Regions from separate parts of the Homo sapiens genome. Here region 1 is linked to region 2. The links are contacts of gene promoters, found by promoter capture Hi-C in blood cells and fetal thymus (Javierre and others, 2016). All regions are on one chromosome and are shown on one strand. Each heading gives the region's core, a stretch centred on a gene start or on the middle of the fragment in contact. The rest is flanking DNA. Distances are from core to core; before and after follow the strand shown.

What was found. Contacts are between HindIII fragments. The CHiCAGO score rates a contact against its expected background, and 5 or more counts as called.
Region 1: a contact is called between a fragment that was not itself captured here and the fragment with the promoter of ANOS1 in region 2, in 5 of 17 cell types (naive B cells, total B cells, non-activated CD4 T cells and 2 more). The highest score is 10.0, in naive B cells.

The regions. Positions count from the first base shown.
Region 1 is chrX:9,733,954-9,738,737 of GRCh38, reverse strand. The region is part of intron 8 of GPR143 (G protein-coupled receptor 143); the gene reads left to right. LOC105373126 (a long non-coding RNA gene) reads right to left here and starts at 1,638. Exons shown (of 2, transcript XR_950507.2): 1 at 19-1,638. The HindIII fragment of the contact is 5,511 bases long and covers 163-4,784 here.
Region 2 is chrX:8,729,904-8,734,893 of GRCh38, reverse strand. ANOS1 (anosmin 1) reads left to right here and starts at 2,757. Exons shown (of 14, transcript NM_000216.4): 1 at 2,757-3,064. The coding sequence starts at 2,858. The HindIII fragment of the contact is 4,315 bases long and covers 814-4,990 here.

The sequences.
Region 1 (4,784 bases), core at 1,669-4,168, 1.0 Mb before region 2:
CAGGAGAATCACTTGTACCTGGGAGGAGGAGGTTGCAGTCAGCTGAGATCGCGCCATTGCACTCCAGCTGGGGCAACAAGAGTGAAGCCCCGTCTAAAAAACAAAACAAAAACAAAAACAAACAAATACATTGAAGGAAGTTTCACTTTCAGGTGACAAGCTTGGTTTACTTTGAAGACCAAAAAATATGGTGATGAACTGATGAATTGATTCCATGATACCGTACTGTCTGGTTGAAATTGGGAGCCATGAAGAGAAAGAGATAGTTCTGGCTGAAGCTAAAAGACACAGAGAGAAGATTTATTTACAGACTTTCCGTCTGGTACAAATAGTTCACGAAGCATGAGGGACCCACCAGCTGGAACTGCTGTTAGTCTGTAGAGTTACTGATACCATCTAGGGAATGAAGCAAAAAATGTTATCTTGAATTATTTGGCTTTGCATTCCCATCCTGCTGTTTTAAAGTGGCTGAGCAGATATTTGACAGTCAAATAAAACACTAGAAATAACAGTAAAAGTCCCCTGCACCCCACCCCAATCACCACCACCAAACAAAATCCATCAGCATTTCCTTACTTCCACTCCCTCCGGCAAGCTGTTGCATAGATCTTCTGCTCAAAGGTTGGATGTTTTCACATAGAGGTTTTAGAAAAAGCAAATACAGATCCAATAGAAAAATAAGCAGGGCAGCCATCCCTGGAGGCTGCTCTCTGTGAGGGCTCCCTGTTTTTGTTTTTTGAGACAGGGTCTCCCTCTGTCATCCAGGCTAGAGTGTAGCGGAAGGAACACGTCTCACTGCAGCCTCCACCTTCTGGGCTCAAGCAATCCTCCCACCTGAGTCTCCTGAGTAGCTGGGACTACAGGTGCACACCACCATGCCTAGTTTATTTTATTTTTTAGTGTTTGGAGACACGAGGTCCCATTATGTTGCCCAGGCTAGTCTCAAGTGGTCCTCCTGCATCGGCCTCCCAAAGTGCTGGGATAATAGGCTTGAGCCACTGCACCTGGTCCCTTGGCTTTTTAAAAAATTTCAGATATAATTAACGTACCATAAAGGTCACCCCTTTAAATGGCACATTTCAGTGGTTGTGCACACGTCACCACTATCTAAGTCAGAACATGTTCATCGTTGCAGAAAGAAACCCTGTGCCCCCAGGGAGTCATTTCCCTTCTCTTCTCCCCAGCCCCTGGCAACCATGAATCTCCTTTCTGTCTCTATGGCTTTGCTGTTCCAGACCTTACATGGAAAGGGCATTGTGTAATATTCGTCCTGTTGTGTCTGGTTTCTTGTACTTCGGATAGTGTTTTCTAGATTCGCCCATGTTGTAGCAGGTGTCAGAACTTCATTCTTTTTATGGATTGATAATATTTCGTTGTATGGATACACCTATTCTTTGTTTTATTTATTTATTTTTGAGACAGGGTCTCACTCTGTTGTCCAGGCTGAAGTGCAGTGGAATGAACATGGCTCACTGCAGCCTTGATCTCCTGGGCTCAAGCTATCTTTCCACCTCAGCCTCCTGAGTAGCTAGGACAACAAGCAGGTGCCAACACACCCTGCTAATTTTCTTTGGTTTTGTGTGTGTGTTTTTAAAATTTATTTTATAGAGCTGGGGTCTCCCTATGTTGCCCAGATTGGTCTTAAACTCTTGTAAATGATCCTCCCACCTTGGCCTCCCAAAGTGCTAGGATTATAGGCCTGAGCCACTGCACCTGGCCCACTCTTATTCTGTTAATAACTACTTATGACTGCCCCAAACTCTACCAGGCTGTGTACTAGGAGCTGAGTGGGGTGGAGATACTGGAGATGTGTAAACCTGGCCCTCAAGGATCTCACAGTCTATTGGAGAAAATTAAAATATTTTAAAAAATCATTCTATTCTAACAATAGAACACTCAATGGAAATACCAATTGGAGAAAACACTGGAGGAAAAGGAAAGAACAAAAGGAAAGCCTTTTGAGAAAAATGAGAAATACAATCGGTATTTTTTTATTGTGGGAAGAATTCCTGTAAAAATGGCAGCTGCCAATTTAGAACTCCAAGTGACATATTATTAGGTAACATCTGTCAGGGTTTTTGAGGATAGAGCTTGAAGCATAGAGTGAGTTTTCAGAATTAACAACAAACATCTGCAAAAGTATAAAGTGGCCTGGCCTGGTAGTATGAACCTGTATCCCCAGCTACTCAGGAGGCTGAGGAAGGAGGATCGTTTGAGGCCAGGAGTTGGAGTCCAGACTGGGCAACATAGTGAGACCCCATCTCTTTAAAAAAAAGTATAAAGTGGCGGTGCTACTGAGGTGGTGGTTAGGGTCATAAGTTTACATCTAGTCACCCTTTGAATATCTTAAAATTGCCCATAACATGCAGTCATCACCATTTTGTATGGTAACCCTATGCAGGAATTTGCATACATTAATCTAAAAAGAATTGAAAAGGCTTTTATTCAGAAATTAATTTGCTGCCTAGGACACCTCACATTTTTTAATATTTCCACATCGGACTTTTGGCTCTCATCACCATTGTATTGTTTGGGGACAATTTTAGGATCCCTTCTAAATCTTTCCTGGTCGGTATGTCTCTGGGGCCACTTGCCTGTCACCCCAGAATGTGCTTCCCTTCTGTCAGTGGCGGGGGAAACGCAGGTGTCATTCCGATTTTCCTACCAGAGCTTTACCAGCTTGCAGGCAGCAGGATCCCTGGGACTATGTAAATCCTCACCTACTCTCCCTGCCATACCTCCCCAGCCCCTCACTAAGTAGAGGTGAATTTGGGTAAGTTAAGTGTGCATCGGATACTACTTCTGTGCGTAAAGTCAAGGAAAACCCCTTACCAGGGCTGCTTTCCTATTGGCTGCACCTGATTACTACGATGGCAGATACAGAAAAAACTTAGCCATGGGCTTCTCCCTATGTAGACAGTGGATATAAAGCTCAACTTGTTCATCATACCCTTCAGACCCTACTGCTTCGGGTTTCACTACAAGACCAATAGGCTGGCATGGAGCTTTATTAAGTATCTGATATGGTGTCTGGAACTTACTAGGTACTTCACACAAGTTAACTGAATTTTGTCTTAAGCAAATATTCAACACCATTTTAGCCGGGATGGGTGAGTGTTCCTGAGAAGTATAATTTGTGAAACTCCCAAGTAAGTAAGGACAATACTGTTTTTTTTTTTAAACCTGTGAAGGGTTAAAGGAACACAGGCAATGCAGGACTAAGTTGGTTTTGGAACACTGGTGAGAGTTCCTGGAGAAGGTGATGTGCGGGCTGGGTCTTAGATGATAGAACAGCATAGGCAAAGAGGAGACAGAAAATCTAGATGAGGAAGACGCGGTGTTGAGAGTTAGCATAGAAAGTCTGCGTCTTGTTTGGGGACGGTTGTGGCTCAGCGTGGTATGGAGGCGTTGGGGGAAGCTGGAGAAGTGGTGAAGGGTTTATAAAGATTCTGCTAGGGCGTTTGGGCTTTATCCGGTGGCCAGCGAAAGGCCAGTTAAGGTTTTTAAGTGGAGAGACACTGCAATTTGCTTGTAGGACCAGCCCAGTGCATGGGCGTGGAAGAAAACACGTAATGCATCGCGTTTTGTGATTGTGGCAGCAGTTTCCATTGAGGGGATCTGTGTCTCCGCTTAGGGAGGCGGAGAGCCGCTGGATGGAGCTCGGTTCCACGCCCCGTCACCATTGTGCCTCCTTGCTGAACACTCTCTGCTCATCAAGTCGAGGTGTTGGGATCTGGGACAATCCTGAAGAGAGTCATTACTAGGGGAGGATTGTGCACCTGAACCGCTTTTGACTCCCTAGATGTGCAGGCACCCAACTCCCGGGCCTGCGCTGGCTCTCAGGAGACCCAGCCCCTTGGTACCTCCCGGTTTCCCTCCAGGGAGCGAGCCAGGGGGGCATGGCCTGGCAGGAGGGGTGGGGACTGGGTGGAGCTTATAGAGCCTGGCCGGGGCTGTGTTTTGGGGTAGGGCCTGGTGAGAGCGAAGGGGCAGAGTCTGGCAGGAGGGATGTGGCTACTAAGAGCAGGGCATTTCTGATGGGAGCAGGAGTATAGATCTTTCCTGGAAGACGAGTGTGCTAGTACACAAACTTGCAAGATTTAAGGATCATCCCGGGGAGAAGCCCAGGCCGGTGAGGCTGAGGCTTAGGGCTTGTTGGGAGTGGAGGGGTCGTGGTTAGGATAGAACAGAGGGGCTGTGTTCCCACACAGGTGGGGTGAGGCCCATTCAGAGCCCAGAAACATGGCCAGAAAGGAGCGTAGCTGTATCTCCCACAATGCCTTTTATCTCCCCCAATTCCATATGACACCCACCCCGCCATTCTTGGTTTGACCATCAATCCTCTCTACTCTCCACAATTCTGTTTCTCCCATAATTCTCTGTCTCTCCCACAATTCCGTGTATCTCCCACAATACCCTGTATTTTCCCCGATTCTGTATTTCTCCCAGAGTTCCATGGCTCTCCCATAATTTGGCATTCTTCCCCACAGTCCCCTGTCTCTCCCACAATTCTTTTTTCTCTCATAATTCCCTATTTCTCTCACAATAACATTCTCCTAACAATTGTTTTCTCCCACAATTCTCCATTCTATTTTTTCTTGAAAATCTGTTTTCTTCTATAATCTATTTTATTCTTCTTCTTTTTTTTTTTTTTTTTGAGACAGAGTTTCGCTGTTGTTGCCCAGACTGGAGTGCAATGGCGCGATCTAAGCTCACCACAACCTCTGCCTCCTGGGTTCAAATGATTCTCCTGCCTCAGCCTCCTGAGTAGCTGGGATTATAGG
Region 2 (4,990 bases), core at 1,508-4,007:
GCTATGGAACCCATATAAGTAGCACACACACTGCTTTTTAAAAAAAAAAAAAAACGGCAACCCCTGTGAACATCCAAAGGCTGTTTTTAAAAGCTCAGCATGCTTGTCCTTGTGATTTCACTTTCTGGAATATGCATTTCATGATATGACATGCAAAATTATAAATCAAAGTTACCTAAGAAAATGTCGGTGTACATAATATCTTTGCCTTCACCAAGACCACATATTTGCTTAACTTTAAAATTCCAAACAGGCCAGGCACGGTGGCCCACGCCTGTAATCCCAGCACTTTGGGAGGCTGAGGCAGGCAGATCACGAGGTCAGGAGATCGAGACCATCCTGGCTAACACGGTGAAACCCCGTCTCCACTAAAAATACAAAAAATTAGTTGGGCGTGGTGGCGGGCGCCTGTAGTCCCAGCAACTCGGGAGGCTGAGGCAGGAGAATGGCGTGAACCCGGGAGGCGGAGGTTGCAGTGAGCCGAGATTGCACCACTGCACTCCAGTCTGGGTGACAGTGAGACTCCGTCTCAAAACAAAACAAAACAACTCCAAACAAACACTAGGAAAGGATCCCCTACAGCTTTTGGAAATGTTTTTAGTAATTCACAAATGAAAGTGACAACATTTAGAAGACAATCTCGGTATTCAGACATCATTATTTATTGACACTTGGCTTTATACACATGCCTGCTTGGGGTCATTATAGTTAGCTTCTTTACTCTTCGTTAATATTATGTTTAACATACTTAAAAAATATTTCCATTTGCAATTCTGAGCAATTTTAAAACAAATCATTGAAGTCGTGTAAGCTTATGCCAAAATTACTAGGTTTCCAGCCCAAGTAAAGAGTGGCCCCAACCTTTTTGGCACCAGGGACTGGTTTCATGGAAGACAATTTTTCCATGGACCTGGGGGTAGCAAGTGATGGCTTGGGGATGAAACTGCTCCATCTCAGATCGACATTAGATTCTCATAAGGAGTGCGCTACCTAGACATCTCGCATGCATAGTTCACTATAGGACTGAAGCTCCTATCAGAATCTAATGCTGCCACTGATTTCTCACCTGAGGCACAGCTCAGGCAGTAATGTTCCCTGGCCTGCCGCGGCCCAGTTCCTAACAGGCCACTGTCATTGTGAAGAGTTTCAGGATGGTGATGGCAGAACAGGCCTTCTAAGAGTGCGACTGTACCATTGTACAGCTTGCATGTCCATGAAACTGGCTTTGCCTATAGAACCTTTTGAACAAGATGACCCTGATTTTCTAATTCGCTGAGAAACACACCAAGGCCAATTAATTTGACTGGCCTTTCTGATTTAAGCTATGTGAAGAAATACACATGTAAGATGATGTATTTGAAAAGCACTCATAATAGGATAGCTGCAGATGGCTGTCATTGCAATTTGTTAACAGGCAGATCTCAAAATTGCAGAGTGGAACCTGTGTATAAGAATAGGGAAAAGGGTGGGAAATTGCAAAACAACTATATAGGCTTTGTGCAAAGAGGATTCCAGCCTTCTGATGTAGCTTTGAGTAGAGCGAGTGCATCTAGATACCCTGACTGTGCTTAGCTGGGTGCTTATAGAGATCCCGTTTTCGAAGGTGAAAGTGCAATTGGGTAGGAGAGGGTGGAGATGTCAGAGCAAAGGAACAGCAGTCAGTTGTTGTCCATTCGAATAGGAGTGTGCCTGGGTCTTTTTTCTCTGGGCTCTCCTACCTGCAAGGGGACTGTCACTTCCTGATGGGGCTCAGGGGAGTGTAGAGCTTTGTTACAAGTTGTGTCTTATCAATGCCTCCTGTCTTTCTGTGGCAGGATCCTGGCTGGGGAGGGAGAATTTGTGTGCTGAGAGAACACTAGACAAAAACGACAGGAGAGGACGGAGCAGCCATTCCAAAGCTAAAAAGCCTGAGTCAAGAGGCTCGGGCAAATCGTGGGGAAAGAAAGAGATTAAGACGCAAGTCTATTTAGAATAAATCACTCACTTTGGGGCGTGCAAGGCTTACTAGAAAAACAGACACCTGAGGAAACAAGGCGTGTGGACCTAAAGGTGGTTAGCTATGCACTGAGACTGTCTCCAGGGAAAACAGTGCGGGAGGGAGGGAGGGAGGGATGCGGGAAGGACGGAAGAAATGCAAGAGGGAGAGAAGGAGGAATTTGTCTCCGGGACACTGTAGGGCAAATGTCCACGCTCCCCTCCCCGTCTGTCTTACTGCCATTTGTTTTCTTCACTTCTTTCCACTACCTGGGCAAAGGAAATTCGAATATGTGAAAGCGTGGGAAAAGCCTGGACCCAGGGGAGGTCGGGGAGAAAGCAAGCCACTTAGGGGCGCGGGGTCAATCCCCAGGCAGGTGGGACGCCCCTGGGGGTCCTGAGGCCTCTTCCCTCCTGCTGAAGGGAGCACCCCTCCTGGCAGGCCTGGACCTGCTCACACCGACGTTTACCTGGACGGAGGGGGAAGGTGGGAGGGGCAGGAAGCGGTTGGTGCGAACGGGAGAGGCGCCTGCGTGGGAGCTGGGCCCCTCGAGACCTGCGCGGCGTGGAAAGCCGCTCGGCGTCGCCCTCCCCCGGAGCGCCCGGGCTCGCAGCTGACGAGACCGGCCCATGGGCCCTGCGCCCGGCCCCCCTGTCACTCACACGCCTTCCAGCCAATGGTGCGGCCTCCTGTCCCCCTCACCCCACCCCTCGAGGGCGAGCTGGGAGGGAGGTCGGCGAGGAGGGTCCGGCCGGAGTTGAAGGATTGAACTTTCCGGCTCAGTCGCGGCGTCTGCCTGGTCCTCAGCAGTGCAGCCCCGGCGCGGAGCAGGGAGCCTCGGCCCGCGCCCGGCGCCCTCGCCCTCGCCCTCGACCCGCAGCCATGGTGCCCGGGGTGCCCGGCGCGGTCCTGACCCTCTGCCTCTGGCTGGCGGCCTCCAGCGGCTGCCTGGCGGCCGGCCCCGGCGCGGCTGCTGCGCGGCGGCTGGACGAGTCGCTGTCTGCCGGGAGCGTCCAGCGCGCTCGCTGCGCCTCCAGGTGCCTGAGCCTGCAGATCACTCGCATCTCCGCCTTCTTCCAGCACTTCCAGGTACGGGGAGGCCCCCGCCCGGGTTCTTTCTGGGGCTGCGGCCGCGGCGTGGGCGCACCGGGGCGCGCGCCTCCCAGCCTGGGCTCGCAAAGTTCTCGGCCAGCGCCGCCGGCTGATCCTGGCTTCCCCTGGGCGTGGATCTTACAGTCGGGGTGCTGGAACTCTCCTTTCCAGCCTCTTCCCGGCTCCTGAAAAGAAAAAGAAGCCCGAGACATCTTGCCCCAACTCCCTCCTTCCCAGCAGGAAACCAAAGGCGATTTCCCTGGGGAGGGAGAGTCGTGGATGCTGGGAGTGGGTGTGTGGATGTGGCGGTTTCCCGGGAATTGGAGTGCGCGAGACTCCGGGCGGGCGGCGACTCCCGCAAAGTCCCAGGCGCTCCGGGGCACTGGGAGGGAGTCTGGGAGGCGCGTCCGGCTGCGCCTGGGGACCTCACCTCGAGCCCCAGCCCCGCAGGTGCCCGCGGGCCGACACTTTGTCTCTTTTGAAAGATGGTTTTCACTCTCTGAGGGCTCAGAGCTCGCTGCCCACCCTTGGAGCCCCAGCCAGGGTACTTGTGCCAAGTCGTGTTCCAGGGTGCGTGTATGCGCGTGTTGGGGGTGCGAGTGGCTGTGCGCGCCTCAATTCGGAACCCCAAAGATTCAAGGTCTTGCCCTGGACTAGCGTAGAGCGTCAGGGAAGAAGTGCCGGGGACAGGGGATTTGGCGGGGCCGTATTCGGATACTCCTCAACGAGTCCCGGGGGAACCGTCCCCCAAACCCCGAACGTAGGTTCTTTCAGCCTGAGGGTGGGGAGTATGTGTGTGTGCGCGCGCGCTTGTGTGGGAGGCTCCGGGAGCCGCGCGCTTGGCTCCAGCGGGTTGCCGGGACTCTGCCCTGTGGCGCGGACCCCCGCGGGACTTGCGCGAGGCTCCGGGTGCGGGTGGGCGCACGAGAGCAGGTTCCGGACTCAGCGCGAGCGAGTGCAGCTGCTGCCTGTACCAGCCCTGTCGAGCGTGCGAGCTCTGAAATCCTCCGCTTATTTTTCTCTTCTCTCATCCTTCTCTCCTTCTTCTTCTCGCCTCTATCCCTAGGTGCCCACCTGTTCCAAGTTCCCAATTTCTCGCTTCAGGGAAACTCTGGAGGGACCAAAAGGAGAAATGGGGGCTGGGGGGAGGGGTTCCCCTGGCTGGGCGGGAACTGGAAGCCAAACCCTTGGCTCTTAAACTGGGCGCCCCTCCTGCCAGAGCTGGGTCAAGGGGTGGGGGGGGGGGTCCCCCTAGAGGCCCTGGGAATTAAGCTGCCAGAGGAGGCCATATTAATAAGGGTGGAATGTGGAAGTGATTCCCCTTACCCTCGGGGATGATCTTGAACCGGCTGGTGAAGCTGGCGCGTTCGCGAGTGTGCAGTTGAGTTTGTTCTAAGTCGTAGAAGCAGCGTCTCGTGGGTGTCAGAGAAATGGGCACGCTCTGTAGTCCTTCTGCGTCTTCAGGGAATGGAAGACCCAGTGCTCACCTCCTGTGGTGAAATTACCCAGACATCCTGGACAGAGCCAGGAGAGGGCCGATCCCCAGGCACCTGGTTTCCAGCCCTCCGAGTCCTACCCTGAAAGTCACTCTCCTAAGATGCCACACTATTGTTTGAAACAACAGAAAACAAAACAAAACGGAGCAGCCTATTCCCAGGGAGAAAGAGTACCTTTTTTTTTTCTTTTTCTTGAATTGTCAGTGCTGTAATTTATTTGTTTTACAGTTTCAGTGGCTAAAGCACCAGCTTAGATGAAGCCAGTTCCCGTGAAAGGCTTTTCTTGTGGTCTCCTTGGCATGATTTCTCTTTGGAAGAAAAACTGCTGACAGAATGCACATTGCTAGACAATCCTGATTACATTTTAATTAGCTGGGGGTGAAATAAGCTGCAAATTACTCAGTTAAGACTTAATAAGTGCTGTGTT